2 separate regions of the Homo sapiens genome follow, and region 2 is linked to region 1. The links are contacts of gene promoters, found by promoter capture Hi-C in blood cells and fetal thymus (Javierre and others, 2016). All regions are on one chromosome and are shown on one strand. Each heading gives the region's core, a stretch centred on a gene start or on the middle of the fragment in contact. The rest is flanking DNA. Distances are from core to core; before and after follow the strand shown.

Region 1 (6,198 bases), core at 510-3,009:
TAGCAAGCAAATATGTACTCCAAGTAGAAACAGAAGAAACTGAATGATGTTAAATATAGACACACACTTCAATATGCAAACAGAGTACATTTTTCTCTGTCCTAACTGGTCACATTTGTTCACTGGTGTCAAACTTTTAACTGAAAATCAATTATTAAAGACCCTATCATGGGTTTTTATTCCACATTTACAGAAGTAACGTCTCTAATGAAAAGACATCTGAACAAGTTCTGAAAAAATCTATGTTAATTCTTCACACACACCCCTGTCGGAAAAGTCAAATAGCTACTCACAAAGAACTGTCAGATTTGTGCTAGTCTATCTTCAAAGAACTGATCCTAAAAGTACCAAAAATAGACTGAGTTGGATAAGATAGAAATATAAAACCTGGTGTATGTCTTATTACATGTGAAGAGATGCTGATTAATGGACATTGAAAAGAAAAACATACTGTAGACGAGGATAGAGTATTAAAGATCTCAATTTAGCATGGGCGTTAAGAAATTCGACAAGAGGAATTCAGTAATTTAATCTAACTTAAAGGAGCAAAGCATAAGGTGCCAAAAATGAAACTGCTGATACATGACTGGCAGTTTACACTTGCCAACTAGTTGTGCTCCTCCCACTTAACTCACTTACCTATCATATACTCTTAATATTTCTCATAGCACAAAGGAGAAAATGAAAAAGTAAAGTCACCCAAACTTAAAGTCATTGATGAAGCTCAGCTACTGTCCCATACAGGACAAGTTATTTGCAACAGTTGGTACTTCTGAAAGCCTTAACTGTTGGATGTTACCAGACCTGGGCTAACCTACACAATGATCATCCCTACATCCCGCTTCTCTCGACTTTCCATTTCAATCAAACAAGGGAGCAGCCTGCTCAAAACATTCTGAAAAAGCAACCAAAACACAATAAATATAGAAACAGTGCAAAACCACAGCACCTCGTCCACTAGCCCCCTTCACTCTCACAAAAACATCATGTTCTAATAAAAGCAAGATGGCTAGAAATTGTCAAAAATGGCAAACTGTTTTCAAAGTTTAAAAAGAAAACATATGAAATGGCACCTACTGGCTTTTACAGAGAGATCTTAAGTCACCCAAGAAAGAAACTAACCTGGCGTTAGTTTGACTCATACAAAAAAAATGTAAAACCAAGACAGGTTTCTAGGGCTTAAGTTCTGGGGTCCTGTTTACATGGGGAAACCAAATTAAAAGGGTAAGACATAAAGGCGGTGGGGAGCAGGGGCAATAATGTAAAGTGTGAAGCAGGGATACAGGGCCAATAAGGAGAAAAGCAACAGTTAAGCAAGACAAGAGGGAAAGGTTACTGTCCTGCCAGATAAGGAGCTCAAGTTGAGGACGAGACTACGGTGAGAAGGAGAGTCCGAAACAAGACGAGAAAAAATGCCAACACTCCCCTAAACAGAGCCCGGGACCGTAGGAGAGCGAACGCCGCCTCCCGGGGCTGGCCGCGGAGCTTCGCAGGGCGCCGGCTCCGGCTGGGCCTCGCCCGGGAACTCGGGCATCTGGACCAGACCCGGCCCCCTCCCCCACGGCCCAAGGGCGCACCTCGCGGCCCCCCTCCCTCGGCGCCCGCCGGCCCCGGCACTCACCAGGCAGAAGAGGTTACAGTGACAATCTTCCAGGCTGGCCCCGTTCGGCACGAAGGAGGCACTCATCGTCCCTCACAGCAGCCGCCGCCGGCGCCACAACCCACCATCCGCCATTACCGCCGCCTCCGACCAGAGAGAGAAACACAGACACCGGGGAGGGCCGGGGGGGGGGTAGTGGTTGGGGGGGCGGTGGAAGAGGAGGCCGCCGGGCGCCCGCCCTCCCCACCCACCCCCCCGCCGCCGCCGCCGCCGCCGCCGCCGCGAGCAGCCCCCGCCGCCCGGCCGGCACCCAGCCGCCCGGGGCCGAGGGCCGGAGGCGGGAGGGCCGCGCCGCGCTCGCCTGGCGGGCCGGACTGCGGATCCCGCAGACGCTCGTCCCTCTCTGGGGGACGGAGGGGATGTGTGCCCCTACCACAAGAAAAATAATAAATTACACAATAAATAATCAAAATCAAGTCCGAGACGGCAGAGCCCAAGCCCAGGACGGTTCTCCCGGGCGGAGAGGCGCCCGCACAGGAGCGGGAAGGGCGAGAACCGGGAGAGAAGCCCAGGCCCCCGGCGCGGCAGCGGCGATGTCCTTAAGCCCAGAGTCTCCTCAGCGGCGGAGGTGGTGGCGGCGTCTGCGGGCTCAGACCATTCTCTGGCTCTGTCTTCGTGTCGTTCCTGGGCCAAGCCGGCCTAAAGTTTGCCCTCCTGTGGCCTCACCGGCTGGACGCCGTAGTCTCCCCCATTTTGTGGGCCCAGCGGGCGGTGTTTTTCCCCCTTTAATCCGAATTCACGGGTTTTCCCTTCGCTTTAATGGCGGCCACAGGGACCAGCTCGCCCTCTCTGCTCACCCATTGGCCGCCTTGAGGTCACGTGGGCCCGGGCTCGGTTGGGAGGGGGAGAGAGAAGTGAGCGAGGGAGGGCCGGGAAGCTTTCGGCGGAGGCGGTGAGCTCGGGGGACGGGGCAGCCAGCTGGTGGCCACTAACATAGCGCCATCTGCTGGGTGCCCCGGCCAGTATAAAACGACCCGGGGCCCTGGCCCTCTCTTTGCGGGGAAATTTACAGTCCAGGAAGGTTCATTTCACAAATCAGTGAGAATTACGTGGAAATCAGTTTGAGTTCTTTGGAAGAGAAAGTATTGGCAAAAATTCCAAGACATTCTCATTTATTTCGCGAGGCCGCTGGGGTGCAGGTGCAAACCTCTGGATTTGGGAGTCAGATGATCTGGATGGGGATAAGACTCCTCAACCTAAAAGTTGTGATATGAAGATATAAATTTAAGAAACAAAATATTGCCCTGTAGTTAATAGACTGGGAATTAGAGCCACACTGCCTGGGTTCCAAGCTTGAGCAAATCACTTCCTGCTCTGTGTCTTTACTCATCTGTAAAATGGGGAAAACATATCCCTTACCCCACAAGCTTATTGTAATGAGTTAATACAAATTAAGCAGGTAGCCCAGTGCCCCGCACAGATAAGCACTGTTAAGAGTTAACTATTATTGTTGTCATCATTACCTCATATAGTTATTGTGACGAGCAGGAGAACTAGTGTATGTAAAGGTCTCACTATTTTTTTGTTGTTTACTTCTGTCTCTCTAGTGCCTAAAAAAAGGTTCCTAGCACACAGTAGGTGCTTGATATTTGTATAGTTACAAATGAATGGGTGGTAAGAAGTAAGAACCAAACAAAAGGTTTATTCTCTTTCCCATAAAACACCCAGTGCTTGGATGGGTTACACTTCAATATGAGTTCAAAACAGTTTCTCTGACGGTTTTAGGATTGCAAGAAAGAAAGAAGAAGAAAAAGATGATTCAGAAGTTAGAAACATCAGTGAGTTAGGACTTACTGTAATTTTATGTATTACAGATACATAATTATGTATTATGTATTACAGATACATAATTGTATCTGTAAAATGAATGGTAGACTCTTCCATGTCACTTCTTCAGCCACGGAATGAAAAGAAGTCCTCATTTATCCACTTGTTCATCTGTGGTGGTGAAGAGCCCAGATCTGAAGCCCAAAGCCTGGAGAAAAAGTTCTGCCCCTCACTAGTTAGTCTTAGATCATATTTGACCTTAGATCAAATTAATTTTGCTTTCTCTCGGTTATTGTAAAATGGGGGTAATAAAAGTACTTTTCTTCTAAAATGACTGGTGAATGAAACAATGTAGATACAGTGCTTGCCACAGTGCTTACTTAATGTTAATTATTAATGTAATTTTAAAAATCATTGAGAACCTGCTGGCTCAATTGAGTGTGTTCCTGCTCTGTGCTAGGCCTAGGATACAAATAGGAATAAGATACCTGCCTGTCCCTCAAGATTCCTGAAGAGAGGCACTAAAGGAAACATTTCCTACAGAATAAGGTAAAATACAATGGGGGTAATTGCTTGAATAAAGTATGTACCTACTATGGCATAGTAAGTGCACTAGAAGAAGAGCATCAAACTTAGAGAAGTTGTCATAAAGTAGGTAGCATTTGAAATCAGATTTGAAGGATAAAATGAATTCTTATAAAGCCCTTTGAAGCAGTTAAATCTTATTAAACCTAATTCGAACCCAAAGTCCACATATCAAAGTCAATTATGCAACCAGGACTAATTCAATCCAGGAGCTCAAATCAACTAAGGTTGGCATCCTTTATAACCGAGTGCCAGCACCAGGAGACAGCAATCCCCAGATCCAATGAGGTAAGCGCTCCTCTGCCCATTTCCCGTTCCCTGAAAAACTCCTCAGATCTTTGTTCCGCTGCTTTCCTCAGGCTGAAATGCCCTCCTCACATCTAAAGGGGTCTCCATTCTCCTTAGAAGTCTTGCCCTCCCATTGCCCCCACCCCCTGACTTGAGCACCATCCTCAGGATTCCAATGGCAGGTAGAATATACCTGAAACCTACCAGTAGGAGGTAACATTTGATTGACCTTTCTGTTTGAATGTCAATCTTTTCAAAAAGAAGAGGGAGACAAGGAGACAGAAGCGAAGAAGGGAGGAAGACCCAGAAGAAAAAGTCTGATGGAGGATCGCAGAAGGGAGCAGGAGAGAGAGAGAAAGACAGGACTGAGAGAATGGAGAAGCAGATTAGAATGGGGGGGATCCCAGTTGTGAGGGGAATGGAATCATTGGGAGAAGGGAAAGAGAAGAAATAAATATTTTCAGCCCACAAAGAACGTATCAGTAACCACTTACATTCGGTAAAAATGACATTTTGTGTGATTTAAAGAGTAATGGAGGCCGGGTGCAGTGGCTCACGCCTGTAATCCCAGCACTTTGGGAGGCCGAGGCGGGCAGATCATGAGGCCAGGAGATCAAGACCATCCTGGCTAACACGGTGAAACCCTGTCTCTACTAAAAACACAAAAAGGCGGGCGCCTGTAGTCTCAGCTACTCGGGAGGCTGAGGCAGGAGAATGGCGTGAACCCGGGAGGCGGAGCTTGCAGTGAGCTGAGATCGCGCCACTGCACACCAGCCTGGGCGACAGAGTGAGACTCCGTTCTCAAAAAAAAGAAAAAGAGAGTAATGGAAATACGGACTTTGGGTATACCATCCTGGTGGGGGATGTTGATAATGAGGGAGGCTGTGTATGTGTGGGGGCAGGAGTTATATGGGATTTTTAAAAAGTAATGGAAATAACTAAAAACATTACACACATATTGTCGGCCAGGTGTGCTGTGTCACGCTTGTAATCCCAGCACTTTGGGAAGCCGAGGCAGGTGGATCACCTGAGGTCAGGAGTTCAAAACCAGCCTGGCCAACATGGTGAAACCCCATCTCTACTAAAAATACAAAAATTAGCCAGGCGTGGTGGCACATGCCTATAGTCCCAGCTACTTGGGAGGCTGAGACAGGAGAATTGCTTGAACCCGGGAGGCAGAGGTTGCAGTGAGCCAAGATCACGCCACTGCACTCCAGCCTGGGTGACAGGGTGAGACTCTATCTCAAAATAAATAAATAAAAACATTACACACACATTGTCAAAAGTTTGGCAGATACATAAAAGCGTAAAGATGAAAATTTTAAATGTACATTACCCAAAAAAGTCCGTATCATTACCATTCATAATTAATCACTTTTTAACATTTTGATGTATTGACTTTTCCCTATGTATCTTTTTCCTACATGGTTGAGATCATACTATATGACCACTTAACTACCCACATGTATTAACCATCTAGTATGTGTCAGGTCATGTATTGACAAAATACAGCATATACAAGCAGCTCATAATCTTGCTTATAATGGCACTTGAACAGTTAGACCAACTGGGGTCAAAACTCCATACTTGGCCCAGCACGGTGGCTCATGCCTGTAATCCCAGCACTTTGGGAGGCTGAGGTGGGCAGATTGCTTGAACCCAGGAGTTTGAGACCAACCTGGGCAGCATGACGAAACCCCCCGCTGCAAAAAAAATAAAAAAATTAGCCGGGCGTGGTGACACGTGCCTGTAGTCCTAGCTACTTGGGAGGTAGAGGTGGGGAGGTTGATTAAGCCTGGGAAGTTAAGATTGCACCACTGCACTCCAGCCTGGGTGACAGAGTGAGACCCTGTCTCAAAAAGCAAGCAAACAAGCAGAACTCCATGCTTGCTAGCTCC
Region 2 (6,572 bases), core at 4,073-6,572, 1.5 Mb before region 1:
TGGGAAGACTGCTTGAGGCTAAGGTTCAAGACCAGCTTGGGCAACAAAGTGAGATACGGTCGGTCTCTACAAAAAAAAAATTTTTAAGGTTTTTTTTGTTGTTATCTCCTACAGAAAGGAGAAAATTTTTTTTTTAATTAACCAGGTGTGGTGGCAAGCATCTGTAGTCCTAGCTACTCGGGACGATGAGGCAGGAGGATCACTTGGGGCCAAGAGTCCAAGGTTGCAGTGAGATATGATTATGCCACTGCACTACAGCCTGGGAGACAGAAGGAGGACTTGTCTCTTAAAAAAGAAAGAAAAACAATTTCTTTAAAGAAGAAATTTTGGTCATTTCCCACTGCAAAATATTGACCCAATAATTTATTCTGATACTTTTATAATTTTAGTAGCCAAATTTAATTTTTTTTTTTTTTTTTTTTTTTGAGACAAGGTCTCACCCTGTCACCCAGGCTGGAGTACGGTGATGCAATGACAGCTCACTGCAACCTCAGCCTCCTGGGCTCAAGCAATCCTCCTGCCTCAGCCTCCTGAGTAGCTGAGACTACAGGCATGCAACACCACACATGGCTAATTTTTTTCTTTGTTCTAGAGATGGGATCTCACTATGTTGCCCAGGCTGGTCTCGAACTCCTGGACTCAAGCAAAATCCTCCCACCATGGCCCCAAAGTGCTGAGATTACAGACATAAGCCACCATGCCCGGCCATCAGTGTATTTTTTTAAATTCTCAGAAAACTGAATGTTAGTTCAGGCTGTATGTAGCTATACAACTGAAATATACAGAGAAAAAGAAAAAATTAACTCCGATCCTAAATCAGAACCTAATTAGTATGGTTTTCAGCATGGTATTTATTTTTATTTTGTTTTTTCTTTTCAGCATAATACTTTAATTTTTAAAAAAATCATTAAGGAGGCCGGGCGCAGTGGCTCACTCCTGTAATCCCAGCACTTCGGGAGGCCGAGGCAGGCAGATCACCTGAGGTAAGGAGTTCAAGACCAGCCTGGCCAACATGGTAAAACCCCATCTCTACTAAAAATACAAAAATCAGCTGGATGTGGTGGCAGGTGCTTGTAATCCCAGCTACTTGGGAGGCTGAGGCGGGAGAATCACTTGAACCCAGGAGGCAGAGGTTGCAGTGAGCCGACATTGTGCCTATGCACTCGAGCCCAGGCAACAGAACAAGACTCTGTTAAAAAAAAAAAAAAAAAAAAATTAAGATTGTGAAAACAATACATAGAACACACTGCTGAAACACTTCACCCAGACAAAGTTTAACTCTACGGCACACTTTGTATTTGGAAAAAACACAAAATAGACCTTCAGTAGTTAAAATAAAAAGATCATAAACTTCATTCATTTTTTTAAAGAGATGGAGTCTCACTACATTGCCCCAGCCAGTCTTGAACTCCTGGACTCAAGAGATCCTCCCGGCTCAGCCTCCCGAACTGTTGGGATTACAGGTGTGAGCTACCACACCTGGCCATAAACTTCATTCTTTAGAATAAGAACACAGCCCCGTCTCTATTTCCTTTCACTCTGTATAGAGTTCTAGAATTTTCTTTTAAGAGATAATTGTGTTGCCCAGGCTGGAGTGCAGTATTCACAGGCACGACCGCAGCTAGCACCCTATAACCTCCAACTTCTGGGCTCAAACCATCTTCCTGCCTCAGATTCCTGAGTAGCTAGGATGGGACTACAGGCATATATCACTCCATCTGCCTCACAATTCTTTCACTTCATCTTACCTGCTTTTATACCAAAATGGTTGCACGCCCTTGGAGAGAAAACTTTCAGAATCCAAGCATTATGATCACATGCCACATAAAGTTTCAGTCAACAACCGACTGCATATAAAAAGGTGGCCCCATAAGATTATAATAGAGCCAAAAAGTTCCTATTGCCTAGAGACATTGTAGTTGAATTACTTTATTTTTAACATTAATTTATAGTCGTCTAAGTATACACTGTTTATAACATCTACAGTAGTGTACAGTGATGTCTTAGGCCTTCACATTCACTCACCACTCACTCACTGACTTACCAGAGCAACTTCCAGTCCTAAAAGCTCCATTCACGGTAAGTGCCCTATACAGGTGTACCATTTCTTATCTTTTATACTGTACCTTTTCCATGTTTAGATGAAGCTTGCCCAATGCACAGCCAGCGGGCCACACGTGGCCCAGGTCAGCTTTCAGTTACACTTTTTTTTTTCTTTTTGTGAAGAATGGGGTCTCGCTTTATTGCCCAGGCAGGTCTCGAACTCCTGAGTTCAAGCTATCCTCCCACCTCTGTCTCCCTAAGAGCTGGGATTACAGGCATGAGCCACTGCACCTAGCCCCCAGGACAGCTTTGAATGAGACCCAACAGAAATTCGTTAACTTTCTTAAAACATTATGAGATTTTTTTTTTCCTCAGCTTATCAGCTATCGTTATTGTATTTTATGTGTGGCCCAAGACAATTTATCTTCTTCCAATGTGGCTCAGGGAAGCCAAAACATTGGACACCCCTGGTTTAGATACACAAGCACTTAATACTGTGTTACAACTGCCTACGGTACTCAGTAAAGTAACATGCTATATGAGTTTGTAGCCTAAGAACAATAGGCTATCCCACATAACCTAGGTGTGTAGTAGACTATACCATCTAGGCTTGTGTAAATACACTCTCTGATGTTCCCACAAGCATGAAATCGCCTAACAATGCATTTCTCAGAACATATCCCCGTCATTAAGCAACACATGACTGTATTGTGTAGGGTTCTGATTTTTATTAACTATTCTTTTACACATTTTTAGTCACCTTCCCTTCTCATACACCTCAGTAGACATTCCCAACTTCTGTTTAGACTTCCTGTATAAAAGCTACCACTCCTATCACTTACCCGCAGCAAATGAACTCACCTCCTAATTCATGACAATCATTCTTACAAACTTACCTATATTAACGACTTGTTTTGTTTTGAGATAGGATCTCCCTCTGTTGCCCAGGCTGGAGTGCAGTGGCACAATGACAGCTCACTGCAGGCTCTGACCTCCTGGTCTCAAGCAATCCTCTCACCTCAGCCTCCCGAGTAGCTGGGATGACAGGCATGCACCACCATGCCTGGATAACTTTTTCTACTTTTTGTAGAGAAGGGGTCTATGTTGCCTAGGCTGGTCTCGAACTCCTGTGCTCAAGCGATCCTTCTGCTTCAGCTTCCCAAAGTGTTGGAATTATGAGTGTGAGCCCTGCGCCTTTACATCTTTAATTCTTTTGTTCTGATCTTAGAAGAAGAGTTCTTTCCCCAACTCCAATATAAGGATAATACCTTAATTTATGCACGGTGAAGGAGGAAAGACCAAAAACAGGCAAGACTCATCAACTCATGTTCCTGCTCAGGGACTTTGCTCCGTAACTTATTTCCCACCACACTTGGATACTCAACCTCATTCTCTTGGTTTCTGCCACTCAGCCAACAAATATATTCTAGTGTCTTCCATTCTTTTTTTTTTTTAAAAAAAAGAAAAAACATTTCATATTTTACCCTTTCTATGCTCTCCCTTCCCTGCTTATACAGCAGTCAACATTCCTGCTTCTTTACCTTCCATTCATTCCATAACCCCATCTCCTAATGCTTTACGATTGTGCCTTTATCTGAAGCTATTACAAAAATTAACACAGTCATACTGTAGTACACCAAACAAGCAGAATGGGGAAATTTGATTCCACAAATACTCCAATTTTGTCTATGACTATGCCTACTGATGGAAATTTGGACTGCAAGAGAGATGTAATTATGAGTTTCTCCTTGGCTTTAAAGTGCAGAAAATTGGAAATTGGAAACAGTAAGCCTCCTAAAATTTTCACAAGTTGGGCAGGGGGTGAGTATCTTATATTTATGTGTGCAGTTATATTGCTTTAAAAAGTTTTTCCAGCCTGGGCAATATATCAAGACCTCATCTATACTAAAAATTAAAAAAAAAAAAATTAGCTAGGCATGGGTGGCATACACCTGTAGTTCCAGCTACTCAGGAGGCTGAGATGGAAAGACTGCTTAAGCCCAGGGGTTCAAGGTTGCGGTGAGCTATGATCACAACTGCACTCCAGCCTGGGCAACAGAGCAAGATCCTGTCTCCACAAAAAAAGTTTCTTATATGTATATGCTAATAGTGTTTAAAAGGAAGAAAAGTCAGGTGCGGTGGCATATGCCTGTAGTCTCAGCTACTCAGTAGGCTGAGGCAGGAGGATAGCTTGAGCCCAGGAGTTCAAGACCAGCTTGGGCAAAACAGCGAGACCCCATCTCTATTTTTTTTAAATTTTAATAAAAAGAATAATTTCTTCTTACATCTCCATTAAAGATTAGAATAGAGTCCTGGGACTGACTTTCACTCCACTTCCATAGAAGCTAATAAAAAAATTAGTGTTATAATATCTTTCATTAAAATAATCTACTATCTTAAGATAGATATCTAAGTAAAAGAGCAAGGAACTCAGGAACTAAATATCAGGTTTGAGACCTTAATTAAATTACTTAACTTTCTCACCAATAAAGCAAGGTTATACTGTACTCTACTTCACAGTTTAATTCTGAAGATTAAACAAAATAACACATAAAAGCACAACATAGTTACAGGCACATGTTTAACACTTCCCTCATCTTAGCACAGTGCCATACTCCCAATAAGCATACAACTATTAAGAAGTAAAAGTGTACCAAAAAGGAGCAATATTAAAACTGTGTGAACTATGTGAAACAGAAATTCTAACAAAAGCACCATCTATTCATACTAATAATCTTCAAATGAAAAGCTTCAATTAGAAGTGAAAGTTACTAAAAGATATTCAAGTATTTTGAACGAATTCAACTAGTAAATACACTTGGATTACATTCCCAATGATTTCCTCTGAGAGATTACATATGAGGTACAAGATTACACATGATTTAATAAAATGGACAGAGAGCACACACAAAGCTGCAGTTTCCCAGGCTGAGAAAGACAAATCTAATTTGTCCTTCCTGGGGAGGAATGTATCTTAAATGAACAAAATTTCCTTAGAATACACAAAAGTAAATCAATGTATCAAAGGGATTAGGAAAAAAGGGAGCTTTTTCTCGAAATCCAAAATAATAATACGCATGACCTAAATGAATCTTCTCCAAATATTTAGGGGGGAAACCCCACTTTAATTGTTAGAATTGGTGCAAAGCAGCTGGATTTAGTAGAACGCAGCCCATCAACTGCTAATTCTGAAAAAAAAAAAAAAAAAAAAAAAAAAATCTAGGGGTGGAGAAAGCAGGCAATCTTCCCAATAAAACAACTGCCACAAAACACTGTACATACGTAAGAACATAAACATCTGTTAAAATATCAGTTTACACTGTTCCAGCCAACTTACAGATCAAGAGGAAGTATTTAAGGTCTAAAAAATAAATTACATTCTACTTTTAGTCACATTTTGCATGGGTGGCTACTGGACACTAGGAGTTATCGACGCGGATTCAAGACAAGGAAGACTGAATAATAAATCCAGTGTTCACATTCAAATGTGGGGGAGAGAAAAGGGCAGGCTCTGAGTCCATAAAGTTCTCCACACTCTGAAAACACTGCAAAAATAGTCCACATCTAAGGACACTTACCCTTGAAACTCCTTGGAGAGTGGCTTGGGAGACTTGCTGTTCAGATTTTTGAGGGGGAGTGATTTAAGAATGCTGCAAGATTGCAACTTTCAAACACAGGAACATAATCTAAAGTGTTTTTTTCTTTCAGTAAAGATCTCTCCCTGTCCTCTTCAAACAGTTGATCAGCACTCCCATTTTCACAAAATCCCTAATTCAAGTATAGAGCCCCTCCTCTCCCACAAAAAAATCAAAGCTTTAAAGAATATGCAAATAAAACACACAGATTATTTCCAATAATCCCTAACTCCTTCCCAATTGGGAAAAGAAAGGAGAAACGAAGGAACACGAAGCAAAAACACCAAAACACTCGGGGAAGGAAGGCGGCGAGATGAGAAAGTAGGAATGGGTGGGGGGAGGAGCACGGAAAAAAGTCCAGCTGATGCTGACACTTAATTGGAAGGAGAGGATGGAAAATATCCTGAAGATACGGGCTAGAAGGAAAGGACTAGGTGGGACAGGGGCGCGATAGAGTAAGTCCACGCAAAAGGCCTACCCAAGAGGGCCACTGTGTAGAAGGGAACACCAACAGGGAGCAAGACTCCCCAAGATTACTTCAAGGCCCCAAAGCTTAAGAGACAGGGCATAGGGAGATGGGGTGCTTCTCCACTGGCAATGCAGACACCGCACCAGACGTTTCGGGAGGCAAGTCTGCCGGAAGGGGTGAGGGGTTAACTGCGGGGGTTCGCAGACGTGGAAGGGGGTGCGGCCCCCGGGGTTGCTGGAGGAGAGCAGAGAGGAGGCCCACGGCGCATACCTTGTAGTAAACATCAAACTGGATGTTCTCGGGCAAGGAGCGGATGTCTCGGCGGGAGCGGATGTAGTTGTCCACGACAGCGGAGATGGCGGTGTTATAGAGAGTCTCTGGGATCCACTCTAGTTCCACGGCCGCCATCTTCCTTCCCTCCTCCT

Evidence for each region. The method cuts DNA at HindIII sites, captures the fragments that hold promoters and counts their contacts. A CHiCAGO score of 5 or more calls a contact.
Region 2: a fragment that was not itself captured here is called in contact with the fragment with the promoter of MED13 in region 1 in 1 of 17 cell types (total B cells); the score reaches 5.2 in total B cells.

Annotation. Positions count from the first base shown.
Region 1 is chr17:62,063,519-62,069,716 of GRCh38, forward strand. It overlaps MED13 (mediator complex subunit 13), which reads right to left and starts at 1,760. Exons shown (of 30, transcript NM_005121.3): 1 at 1,622-1,760. The coding sequence starts at 1,687. RefSeq lists enhancers at 1,151-1,250, 2,161-2,420 and silencers at 1,401-1,680, 2,471-2,550. The HindIII fragment of the contact is 3,767 bases long and covers 1-2,535 here.
Region 2 is chr17:60,519,377-60,525,948 of GRCh38, forward strand. It overlaps APPBP2 (amyloid beta precursor protein binding protein 2), which reads right to left. Exons shown (of 13, transcript NM_006380.5): 1 at 6,418-6,572. The coding sequence starts at 6,555. It also overlaps the pseudogene LOC107984970. Among named protein-coding and RNA genes, the nearest start is that of APPBP2, 3.6 kb to the right of the region's middle. RefSeq lists enhancers at 5,777-6,485, 6,206-6,475 and a silencer at 6,556-6,572. The HindIII fragment of the contact is 1,064 bases long and covers 4,791-5,854 here.